Linked DNA regions of Homo sapiens: all the other regions are linked to region 1. Evidence: promoter capture Hi-C in 16 types of primary human blood cells and fetal thymus (Javierre and others, 2016). All regions are on one chromosome and are shown on one strand. Each heading gives the region's core, a stretch centred on a gene start or on the middle of the fragment in contact. The rest is flanking DNA. Distances are from core to core; before and after follow the strand shown.

Evidence for each region. Contacts are between HindIII fragments. The CHiCAGO score rates a contact against its expected background, and 5 or more counts as called.
Region 2: a fragment that was not itself captured here is called in contact with the fragment with the promoter of DPH3 in region 1 in 1 of 17 cell types (fetal thymus); the score reaches 5.5 in fetal thymus.
Region 3: a contact is called between a fragment that was not itself captured here and the fragment with the promoter of DPH3 in region 1, in 4 of 17 cell types (megakaryocytes, naive CD4 T cells, endothelial precursors and 1 more). The highest score is 6.8, in megakaryocytes.

Annotation. Positions count from the first base shown.
Region 1 is chr3:16,262,858-16,266,973 of GRCh38, reverse strand. DPH3 (diphthamide biosynthesis 3) reads left to right here and starts at 2,031. Exons shown (of 3, transcript NM_206831.3): 1 at 2,031-2,205; 2 at 2,745-2,819. The coding sequence starts at 2,098. OXNAD1 (oxidoreductase NAD binding domain containing 1) reads right to left here and starts at 1,762. Exons shown (of 9, transcript NM_138381.5): 1 at 1,469-1,762. RefSeq lists an enhancer at 1,890-2,199. The HindIII fragment of the contact is 11,235 bases long and covers 1,865-4,116 here.
Region 2 is chr3:17,226,764-17,230,879 of GRCh38, reverse strand. All of the region lies in intron 18 of TBC1D5 (TBC1 domain family member 5), which reads left to right. Among named protein-coding and RNA genes, the nearest start is that of PLCL2-AS1, 170 kb to the right of the region's middle. The HindIII fragment of the contact is 4,917 bases long and covers 1-4,116 here.
Region 3 is chr3:15,624,911-15,629,026 of GRCh38, reverse strand. All of the region lies in intron 1 of BTD (biotinidase), which reads right to left. Among named protein-coding and RNA genes, the nearest start is that of BTD, 25 kb to the right of the region's middle. The HindIII fragment of the contact is 2,907 bases long and covers 806-3,712 here.

The sequences.
Region 1 (4,116 bases), core at 782-3,281:
GTGGTAAACAAGTAGTATACACAGAGTATTTGACCGGAAATCAGCGGAACTGGGCTCAGGTGTGACTCCTTCCTGCTTTCTAATCTTCAGCAAGTCTCCTCTTGCCATTTTAACATTACCCACGCCACCTCACTGGATTACTGAGAGGAATAAATAAAATGTCTACCAAAGTACCTGGCAAGCAACAGTGTTACTAAAATCAATCCTAATACATTGACCCCTTCTCTTCCTTGTCAAACAACCTAGAGAGGTGGAGGTTTGGTATTGCCAATAAACAACTCCTTCTGGCCTGATATACAACAGCACTCATCAAATATAGTTTGCATTATACAATTATGACCTACTTCTTTTTTTTTTTTTTTTTTTTTTTTGAGACAGCGTCTAGCTCTGTCGCCCAGGCTGGAGTGCAGTGGCGTGATCTCAGCTCACTGCAATCTCTGCCTTCCAGGTTCAAGAGATTCTCCTGCCTCAGCCTCCTGAGTGGCTGGGATTACAGGCACACCACCACACCTGGCTAATTTGTGTATTTTTTAGTAAAGACGGGGCTTCATCATGTTGGTCAGGCTGGTCTCGTATTCCTGACCTCGTGATCCGCCCTTTTAGGAATAAATGTAAAGTTTAGTAGTCATTGTAATGTTTTCTTCAAAAGTGCACAGGGATATATTATGTATATGTGTTACGTAAATGTAAACTAAATGTTATATATCATTGCTGAACCAAGTAAAGCTCATAATTTCCGTGCAAAAGTGGAACATTACATCTAAAAAGGATCTTATATCATCTCTACTCCAATCCTTTCTTAGAAGAGGAAATAAGGCCCAAAGAATGTAAATATCCAGTTGCCAGAGGTAATCAACAACTCAAGATTCCGATCCCAGATCTTCTCTCGAAAGTGCTTTTTCACTACAATGCATTTCTTCTCTACTAAGATATTAAAATGCCTAGTAATTAAGTAAGACCCAATGTAATCGGTTTTACCAAAACAGGCACTAGCACTGCTTTCAAGACAAAAATGCCTTTTATCTGCATTTCGCTTCAAGGCATACATAGGCCTCACACTGATAAACCTGCCTACTGACACCATTTCTTTCACAACGAAAAAACTGGTACTCACATAAGTAATTTGTTCCTGGGCTTTGGAGACAGACAAGCTCTTCATTATTTCCCAGGTGTATGATTTTAGTCAAGATGCCCAACTCTCTGTACCTCAGTTTAAAGATTAATAAAATGGAATAACATGTAAACTCCTAGAGTTGACAATTCCACTTAGTGCAATAGCTGGCACATAACTTCCCAATAATAAAAGGTGATGTTATTACTATTACTAAAAATCATCGTCGTTAATAATGTTATAAGCCTGGCAAACAGAAGACTAGAACTCAATCCCTGCCTTCCAGGGCTTGGTCCTTTCAGCAACACAATTTAGGGTATTTTAAGGCGTCTGGGGTGAGGAAGAAGCGGAATGTACCTGCAGCCAGGAATTAACAAGCTGACCGTCGCCCTGGGCTCAAGGTCACTCGGTGAAGCGAAATTCTACGGGAACTGTTCGTCCGTCACCAGGAAGGGAGGTCGAGGAGGCTAAGCTGCTCTCGCCTCCCCACCCCGCCTTTCCCGAGGGCCGGGAGGCTGCTACCTAGCACCTGCTGCAGCCTTCAGCGGGCTATTTAAGGCGTTAAAGCAGACGATAAGAAGCAGGGAAACTTTCCCCGCTGGCACCTAGCTTGCAGACCCGGCCACGTTTAGTTGCAGGCGCCTGGAATACTCCGCGGTCCCAGACGTGACGTAGCAGCGCGGGCGAGCCCCACATTCTATTGGTCGCTGCCGCCCAATAGGAGGAGCGGTGCGCGACCCCGCTGAGCAAGCTTTCAGTCTTCCCAGTGTCTCCGCCCCTAGTTCAGCCATCTCCATGGTGACCGCTACCGGTTATCCATTTGGCCGCGCAGGGCGGAGTTGCGTCATTGCCTATGCGCCGGAAGGGCTAGTCCTTGCCCGGCGCGACCTGATGATGCCGAGCCCAGGCCGGTTCCGGCGAAGTTAAACCCTCGGAGCTGGCCTCGGACTGCTGGGGCGTTACCCCTTCGGCCACCCCCGCTGACCATGGCAGTGTTTCATGACGAGGTGGAAATCGAGGACTTCCAATATGACGAGGACTCGGAGACGTATTTCTATCCCTGCCCATGTGGAGATAACTTCTCCATCACCAAGGTAACTTCAGGGTCCCGCCCGGCGGTTCACCCAAGCAAGCGCAGTTTGGTTCCGCCCGTTCCTTCCATCATTGGGTAGCCTTTGCTGCGCTGTGTCACCCACGCCCTCTTTCCCGTTGCTGAATCTTCCTCCTCCCGCGTCCCCCCACCCCAACTAATGCCCTGAGCTCTCTCGGTAGGCACGCAGTTCTGGCCTTAGATTAGGTCAGGGAGAGGGTGGCGGAGAGCCTCTGTCTCTCTGCCCGATCCCTGCCTTAGGGTCCCAACCTGGGATATTTCTGTCGAGGAGGGGACTCGTTTTTTGTTTCCCAGGGCTTTTGGGGCGACCGAAGCTCGCCTGACCTTCCTAGGTGTTTCCCCTAAGTGACGCTTCTAGGGGAAAATGATGTCGGCATTTCTCGCTGAAGGCCCTGGGGTTCTCACCCACCTTGGGGGGAAGGCAAGCCACCAAGAGACTTGCATCTAGGGGTGGGATAGGTTTGGGGGAGGAGATGGCGAAGAGAAGCTATCCTGACCACATGGTATTTGATTTCGTTGTAGGAAGATTTGGAGAATGGGGAAGACGTGGCAACGTGTCCTAGCTGCTCTCTCATTATAAAAGTGATTTATGACAAAGTAAGGGATATAATTTTAAAACGGGGGAAGGGTATTGTAAGTCAGTGGCAAGGACTTAGATCAGCTTGTCAGTGATGAGTGCAGGAGAATGTTTCATTGTGCTAGGTAAAGTGCGGTATTTTTTTAGGCAGGTTTTAAACACCATTGATAAACAGCCGAATAGTAAATTAAAACGTTTAAAGTTCAGATTACGTAATTTATTTTAGCTTTAGAGATAAATCTAGCTTTAGTGAAAATTATTATTTATTAAATAGAAAGTATATAGATTATTTTAGTGGACAATTTTTTATATTTCTCTTCTATTTAATATGTAATTAAAATTGTTTAGAGCTGCTAGACTTACTTTGAAGGGAACAATTGTATGGTATTTCGTGCTGGCTTATACACAGAATTCTGCATTATCTTGTTTGAGATATAATTCCTAGGTGCAGCTTTACAATTTCATTTTAGTCTTTAGTTGCCCTATTATCTTTCACCCAAGGATGTTGACAATAGAAAAAAAAAATGTTATTACTGCCCACTCCTACCCAAAGTTTTGTTCAGTACTTGGAATGGAATCTTAGGTAAGGACCTTAACACTCTCAAGGATGAAGTCCAAAATGAATATAGGGAAAGTGGGGATGAGGCACAGAGCCTCATGAGAGAAGCGGGCTATAATTTAGACTATAATTTAGAAATATAATGATTCATTCTTGTATTAAAATGTGCTCTGCAACAGAAAGCAAACGGTAAGGAAGATCAGGAGTGCTGGTCTGGGAGGAAGTTGCAGTTTTCCATAGGGTGATCATGGCAGGCCTTACTGAGAAAGGCCTTAATAGGTAAAGATTTGAAGGAGGTGAGGGAGTGAGCCATGTACATATGAGGGTATGAGGTAAGAGAGTCGAGCAAAGGATCGTTCAGTGAAGGGGACCTAAGACAGGAACATGCCTGATTTTATCAAGGAACAAAAAGGAGGCCAGTGTGACCAGAGCAGAGCAGGATGAGAGTAGCGTAAGAAGTTGTGGATCACTTTAAGGACTTAGGCTCTTGTTGTGAGTGATATAGGGAACCATTGGGGGATTTTTGAACATAGGAGTGCTATGATCCAACTTAAGTTTTTTAAAAAATGATTCTGGCTGCTGTGTTCAGAGTAGCCTATAGAGAGCAAGCATAGAAACAGGAAAACCAGTGTAATAGGAGGCTATTACACTAATTAAAGAAGGAGATGGGTGGCTTGGACCTGGTTACAGCAATGGAAATAATGAGAAGTACTTAGATTCTGGATACGCTTTGAATAACTGATTGGATATAGGGTGTG
Region 2 (4,116 bases), core at 911-3,410, 960 kb before region 1:
TAAAAATAGTACTACCATTTTATATAAGAGACTATAGCATCCTTGGATTTTGGTATCCACAGCGGTCCTGAAACCAATCTCCCATGGATACTGAGAGATGACTAGATTTAGGTATTAACATAAAATGGACCATTAGGAAAGAATTTTAGATTTTTTAAAATAATTTCCATAGGCATCTTTAAAATTTATACTTGTATATATACATTTGTGTTATGGATGTAAATATGCATATACATACGCACAGATATCTATAACATCAGATTATTTTAAATATAAAAAGGTTAAAAAAAAACTTCCTGTCCAGGTAACCACTGTTGATATTCTTAAGGTAAAACTAAAATATGTGACATTAGATGATTCCAATTAATTAAAGGTACTACATGAAAAATGGGAGTAGGGGAGAATCTCCATTTTCTCCTCCCACCTTTCTGCCAGCCCATTTCCCCAAGGGTAACCATTGTTAAGTTTCTTATGATTTCTTCCAGGAGAAAAAAATATATATTAAATTGAGGCATAATGTGGGAGTCACATTAATGTGGTAAGAGCTCATTTGTTTGGAGGTGACTTTCTCTCTGGACCATCAAGAAGAAAGCACTGACAAAAATGTCCCAGTGTAAATGAAAAGCAACAAGTTGGTAGAACAAGGAGAGGGATGTCAAGTCAACCAGAGTAGGACAGAATAATGACAAGAAAAAGAGACAGCTTCCACTCACAAGAGTGAGGGAAGATACCAAAAAAAACAAAAAATGGTCCTCATAGATGGCACTATATTGATTGGCTGCTCTGGTTATTGTTGAGATGTGATAGACCTGAAGCACAACAAGTAGTTCCATTATGTTCAGTATAATCATTTTAAGGCAGAGAAATATATGTAAAATGAATTTTGGGAAACATCAGTTAGCTAGAAAATGCATTTTTGTGGAACATCTATTCCAAAAGACATTGAATAAATGAGTTGTTTTTGGACTGAAAACAAGATCAGAATTTGCCCTTTACGTTCAAAAGGCCTCATTCCATTTTGCTTTAATCTAATTTTAGGTCACATTTACATCAGCCCACTTGGCACAACCCTTATGAGATGGGGAGGGTGGTACAGTTTTGTCTAGCACGGGCTCTGGAGTCAAGCCTGGGTTTGAATTCAGGCTCCATCACTGCCTTGCTGGATGACCTGGGGAAGTTACTTAACCTCTTATTTGTAAAGAGAGAATAAGAGCAGCTACTTCAAGGGTTGTTGCTGGACATCATCACAGCACCTGTTGCATAGTGAGGGCTCTAGGGTGCTACCTGCTCAGGTAGTGGTGATGATAGCACCATTATGTGCTTTCCTCAAATACCTCTCTGAATCTCAGAATCAAATAATGAAGGAGCTCATTCCACACATCTATCTTTTCTTAATTATTATTTCTGATATTCTAAAGACACATGTTTGCATGCAGGTACCCAATCCAACAGCGTTTGACTTTTGTGGTCAAGCTAGAGAATGTCTATTCCAGGGGCTTCAAGTACAACCTGTGTCTGTTCACTCTTGTGACAGCAAGATGCATGTCTTTCATTAGTAGACATTAGCCTTTTTGCTATCTGTCACTCAAGTCTGCAGGAAACAAACTGTTACTATATAGGGACCAGATGCCTCATTGTCTTGGTCACTATATAAAGTCAAGGTTATCCCCTTTCTGTGGCCACAGAACAGGGGTTCCCAGGTTTTTCCCTTTCTGCTTATCTAGGTTATACGTTCCCAGCAAGTCCCCCCGTAGACCTCCTGAACATTTTGCCTTTGGGTGTCCAGTGTCCACCTTCCTCAGATGACCTCAGGTGTACTGGGGTTCTGCCTGTCTATTTAGTAAAATGCCCACCCCCTTTTCTTATTTCCTATCGAATTTGGTAATAGAAAATCCATGAAAATATTATTCATGGGACATGGTAGGAGCTTAATAAGCATTTTTCCTTCCTCTTTCCTTCTCTCTCAGCCATTTTGCAGTCAGGAATCTCCACTGATGCCTATGAAGCTCATTCAGTCATTTTAGGCTCTTGACAAGTTGCCTCCAATGACATAGAGCACACAGGGCACAGTACTTTTATTGAGTGTTTCAGAGAGGGAAAGAGAATGAAGGAAGGACATAAGATAGCTAGACACAGCTGTGTCTCATCCGAACAGTAACTTTGTGCAACTTACAAAAAAAAAAAAAAAGATAACTTCTCTGCAGATGTAGCTCACACCAGGGCACATGACTTAATAAGCAGACCATGGCCTGGATTTCAGTTGCTCTGCCAGGCAGTCTTATGTGATGCATATATGATGGTTCTATACTTAGTGCCAGTTAGTTGAAGTCTGTGGGAAATCATTGAGAAGTGCAGCCAGTGTCCTACCAGGAGGGGTTTCAATGATCCTATCAAGAGAGAACCTGTGAATCCACAATCCAGAGTACTGCATTTTAAACTATGTGCTCTAGATTTGGGAGCCATCTCTATGCCTTCCACTAGACATGGTTTATGTCTACGGAGAGCATATGCTAGACACCACACTAAACCCTTTACATTATCATTTAGGACACACAGCCACTTGTAGATGAGAACTATGGCCAGTGGAGGGTCAGTGACTTGTTCAAGGCCGTACAACTAGGTATCAACCCAGTTCAGACTCAATCCTAGCTGTGTCTGACCCACCAGATAGTGGCTTGGGGAATTCTACCCTGTAAACATCTCTCAAATCTACCACCACAGCCTCAGTTGAAGGCCATAATCTCTTGCCTGGACCAACGCAACAGATGGTCCACTCAACCAAGCCCTTATAATCCTCACTCAATTTTCTGGCCTAAAATCTGTAGTAACTGCCATCAACCACCAATGAAATAAAGGCCAGACCCCTTAACATGAGAATAAGGAGCTCTTCTTGATCTGTCAGACCCTTGATCTGGCCTCATCTTCCCACTATCCTCCACTCCCCAAGACTGGATGATCAAGAGGGAAACTAAGCTCATGTTTAGGGTACCAGCAACTTAGTTTTTTTCTTAAAAAAAAAAAAAAAAACTTTTATTTTAGGTTCAGTGGTACATGTGCAGGCTTGTTATATAGGTAAACGTGTGGCATGGGGGTTTGCTAAACAGATTATTTCATCACCCAGGTACTAAGCCTAGTACCTAATAGTTTTTTTTTATTCTCTCCCTCCTCCCACCCTCCACATTCAAGTAAGCCCCAGTGTCTGTTGTTCTCCTCTTTGTGTCCACGTGTTCTCATCATTAGCTCTCACTTATAAGTGAGAACATGTGGTATTTAGTTTTCTGTTCCTGTGTTAGTTTGCTAAAGATAATGGCCCCCAGCTCCATCTATGTTCCTACAAAGAACATGATGTTCTTTTGTATGGTTGTATAGAATTCCATGGTGTATAATGGGGCACCTTCAACTTTAGAAAAAATTTGATAATTGATCCTCCCCCAAAAAAACATTGAAATAATCATCAAATTTTTTAGAAAGCACTCTGTTGAACTTAATCTTTCCTTTTACTTTGATATTGATATCATTTTCAATTACATATTGATGGCAGGGAGCACCAAAGGTTTTAATCAGGCCCTGATTAAGCTAGATGTTCCTAGTACAATGCCTTTGAAAATACTGTGTTCTCCACTAGAGAGGACCCTCCCTGACCCACCACGACCATTTCCTCTTGAGTTTTAAGATCTAGCTCACACTCTTAATTGTCTGAGACAAGATTGGACACTCCCCCTTTTGCGCACACAAAGTGCTGTTGTTTGTACTTCAGTGTTCGCTTTTGCTACCTAGGGTTGTAGGTTAGTGTGTATACAAGTCTGTATTCCCTGTATGGCTATTTTGGGAGTTTCTTAAGAGCTTCTGTTATGTTCATACTTCCCTCCCCAGTGCTAAACAGAAATTTCTTTAGGCATTTCAAAAGATCACTCTGCATAGGGCTCATTCCCTGATGTTTGGTCACGAATGAAAGACTACATACATGCATTAATACATGTACACCCTAGATGGCTTAAGAATGAGCCTATATTTAATGTATTTAAGAATGTCTTACAATCTAAAATAATTTTAAATAAATGTCATGGGTCAGAAATTCTGAAGACCAAACTGTGAGACAGATTCATGGTTAAGACA
Region 3 (4,116 bases), core at 1,010-3,509, 640 kb after region 1:
ACAATTTGATGCAGGTCAGTTAAAGGACTCAGTGCTTGTCTTAGCTATGGCAGGAATACCATTGAAGAACCAGGTTGTTATTGGTTTTTACTTAAATAAAATTCCTGATTTAAAAAAAGGTGGGGGGCAATATGGTAGACTAGATAATCTGAAAAATGTTTCAACCATATCCTGCAAAAATGAAACAGATTATTTTTAAATGCATATTTGAGTTTGCAGGAAAGTTAAAGGAAATCTTCGGTGGTCGAAAATGAACTGTGAAAAAGTCTTAAACTATTGATTGGAGACCTTGACCAGGCAGCAAGGAAAATACACACACATAAAGCTTTTCCACTGTCAGTCAGTCCTGGGACACATGAATGGTGGGGGCACTTCTAGCTACTCTGTTCTTCTGGAATGCTTATGGCTTCCAAAAACCATCGTCAAATTCTCTGAAATGAGTTTCAATGAGTGTCAGCAAGGTATTGCTTTTAAAAGCCTTTGGGAAATTTCTTACCCATTTCCTTCTTGGACTACCTTAAAGAACACCTTCTAGATAATGTGGACCTGAGGGCTTGACATCCAGAAGAAAAAGAACCAGTGCATGGAAAATGTGATGTCCTAGAACTACGTGTCAAAATTTTCAGGGAAGATGTGCTCAGAAATGTGGGCCATGTAATGGCTTTGTGATTATTAAATGTATGATGGACACAATATTGCTGATTGTATAGTGCACACAACATCTCTAGATGTATGGTGGATGCAACATAACTGTATGATGGATACAACCTCTCTAAGCCTGTGGTGGATACAGAATCTCTAAGCTTGTGGTGGATGTAACCTCTCTAAGCATGTGGTGGATACAATGTCACTACATCAAGTCCCATTACCCTTGTGCTCATCTCTGCCAGTACTCAGGAGTGAAAAATGCAGATGGAGATGCTCAGGATGCAAAGAGTGGAGAACAATGTGGTGGGTAATAGGGCCAAGGAACCCTGTTCCCCAAATCAAAAGAATAACCCTTGGGGCTGGGCATGGTGGCTCATGCCTGTAATCCCAGCACTTTGGGAGGCCAAGGTGGGTAGATCACCTGAGGTCAGGAGTTCAAGACCAGCCTAGCCAACATGGTGAAACCCCAACTCTACTAAAAGCACAAAAAATTAGCCAGGCGTGGTGGCAGGCACTGTAATCCCAGCTACTTGGGAGGCTGAAGCAAGAGAATAGCTTGAACCTCGGAGGCAGAGATTGCAGTGAGCCGAGATCGTGCCATTGCACTCCAGCCTGGGCAATAAGAGCGAAACTCCATCTCAAAAAACAAAACAAAACAAAACAAAAGAATAACCCTTAATAGGATAGGCTAGAAACACTGACGCTGGATGATAGTAGAAATTATGAAAGAAACAATTTAAAAAGCTAAAGTAAACCACAGTGCTGGAAATAACACATCAAAGGCCACCTTCTCTCATGCAGAGGCCAAGAGGCATATATTTAGGAGTGGCATAGTCAAAATTACCAAGAGAGGCCAGGCACAGTAACTAATGCCTGTAATCCCAACACTTTGGGAGGGTGAGGCAGGAGGATTGCTTGAGCCCAGGAGGTTGAAACTAGCCTGGGCAACATGGAGAAACACTGTCTCTACCAAAAAAAAATTTTTTTAATTAGCTGGGCATGGTGGCATGCACTTGTAGTCCTAGCTACTCGGAAGGATGAGATGGGAGCATCACTTGAGCCTGGGAGGCAGGGGTTGCGGTGAGCTGTGATTGCAGGACCCTGTCTTAAGAGGAACAGCAAAAAGCAGGCAAATGGGTCCTGGTGCCGTAGCTTCTGAGAACCTGTGGAGGTGCTCTTGATCCATGCGTGGTGGGAAGCACGGTGAGCCGGCATGCCGTGGCTGCTCAGGGGTGTTCGGTTGGAGGGCAGAGCTCAATCAAGAATGATGGTAACCTTTCCAGATCTGTTCACCAACTTGGCTGTCTTCTTCACCCATGGCATGGCAGATGTGTAGAGAAATGATTAGTATCTCTATCTTTGCCTTTCTTCCTGGAGGCATTGGACATTTTGGTTTTCTTCTGCTTTGGTCAAATGAGTAACTATTTGCATGCCTTTTTTCCTCTGACAGACGGTTCCAAGTCAGCCATAGCTGCATTCTGGTTCTAACACAAGTGCCATTGCCTTGTGCCATCTAGAGTCTCAGTAGGACAGACATATGACTAGCTCCCCTATGTCCTATAGCTTCTTTTTCTTTTCTTTTCTTTTTTTTTTTTTTTGAGACAGGGTCTTGCTCTGTTGCCCAGGCTGGAGTACAGTGGCATGATCATACATAGCTCACAGCAGCCTCAAACTCCTAGGCTCAAGTGATCCCTCCCCAACAGCCTCTCAAGTAGCTGGGACTACAGGTGCATGCTACCATGTGTGACTAATTTTTTAATTTTTTGTAGAGATGGGGTCTTGCTATGTGACTCAGGCTAGTCTCGACTCCAGGCCTGAAGCAATCCTCTCACCTAAAGTGCTGGGATTACAGCTGTGAGCCACCATGCCTGGCCTCTGTCCTACAGCTTTACCTGGCATGAGTGTCTGAGTCCTCCAGAGGTGGGGCTCCCTGAGGGTGCTGGGAGTACAGGATTGGGTAATGGAGGTTTCAGCGTCTTCCATGATAGTTGTAGGTGCAACATTCCTCAGCATTAGAGGCAAAGCAGAGGATCATCTAGCTCCTTTTGTGAAGAAGTTACTCTTAAAGTAGAAGGAGACTGCTACCCATAGCCAGGATTTCACCCAAATCTATTCTGACCAAAAGCCCACATGCTTTTTAATGCAACCACACTCAAAATAGTGGTGGTGGTGGGGGAGGTTGATTGAATATGATACTGGGATGGATGAATAACAACAGGAATAATAGCATCTTAGGCCATACACAAAAATAAACTCAAAATCAGAAGTTGAATATCAAATGTTAGAAAAGCTAGCATAAATTAGAATTAGGTATCAGATACTTGAAACAACTTTCTAAAATTTGGAACAGTTGAAATAAAAGAAGAAACAGATTGACAAATTAAAATGTACATGCAAAAAATAAACATCAAGACAACACTTATAAACAGGCAATGAACAAGAACAGATTTTAACAAGAAAATAAATCATAAACAAACACTTTGGAAGGCTTTGAACTTATATGCAAAATAAAAAATTAAAACTGGGCCAGGCGTGGTGGCTCACGCCTGTAATCCCAGCACTTTGGGAGGCCGAGGCAGGCAGATCACGAGGTCAAGAGATCGAGACCATCCTGGCTAACACGGTGAAACCCCATCTCTACTAAAAATACAAAAAATTAGCTGGGCGAGGGGGCGGGTGCCTGTAGTCCCAGCTACTTGGGAGGCCGAGACAGGAGAATTGCTTGAACCCGGGAGGTGGAGATTGCAGTGAGCCGAGATCGCACCACTGCACTCCAGCCTGGCATGAGAGTGAGACTCCGTCTCAAAACAAACAGAAAAAACAAAACAAAACAAACAAACAAACAAAAAACAACTCCAGAGGGACCCAGTCTTAGATGGAGGCACCCGCACTTTTGTAGGTTTTACCTCTAGGAGTTCTACCAGGTTCTCACAATGAAGACTGGAGAAAAAAATCCTCCCATGCTTCTGCCAGAGGAAGAGGGAAAGGAAACAAAGCATTCTGGTCTTTAGCAGGCCTCTCCTCCAGAGAAACTATTTTTACCTATTGGGGTTTTATCAAAGCTTAACTGACCTGGGGGAAGGGAAATACCCAACTCTAGCCCCATTCTGTCCCGCCTGAGTGGGGTTGGGGGCTGAGAAGCACTTGTAAAGTTCACAGTCCATAAACACAGGCTCCCTAAAGATCCCTAAAGACAATAGAACACATTCCCTCCCACCACATTTCAATTAAATGCCTTTTTACTGCTGTTCCTTTACTTAGTACATCGAGTCCAACTTCCAACAAAAAATTACAAGGTATACTAAAAGGTAAAAAATTGAGTTTGAAAACAGAGCAGGCATCAGAACCAGAGTTAGGCCAGGTGCGGTGGCTCATGGCTGTAATCCCAGCACTTAGGGAGGCTAAGGAGCTTAAGGCCAGGAGTTCAAGACCAGCCTGGCCAACATGGCAAAACCCTGTCTTTACTAA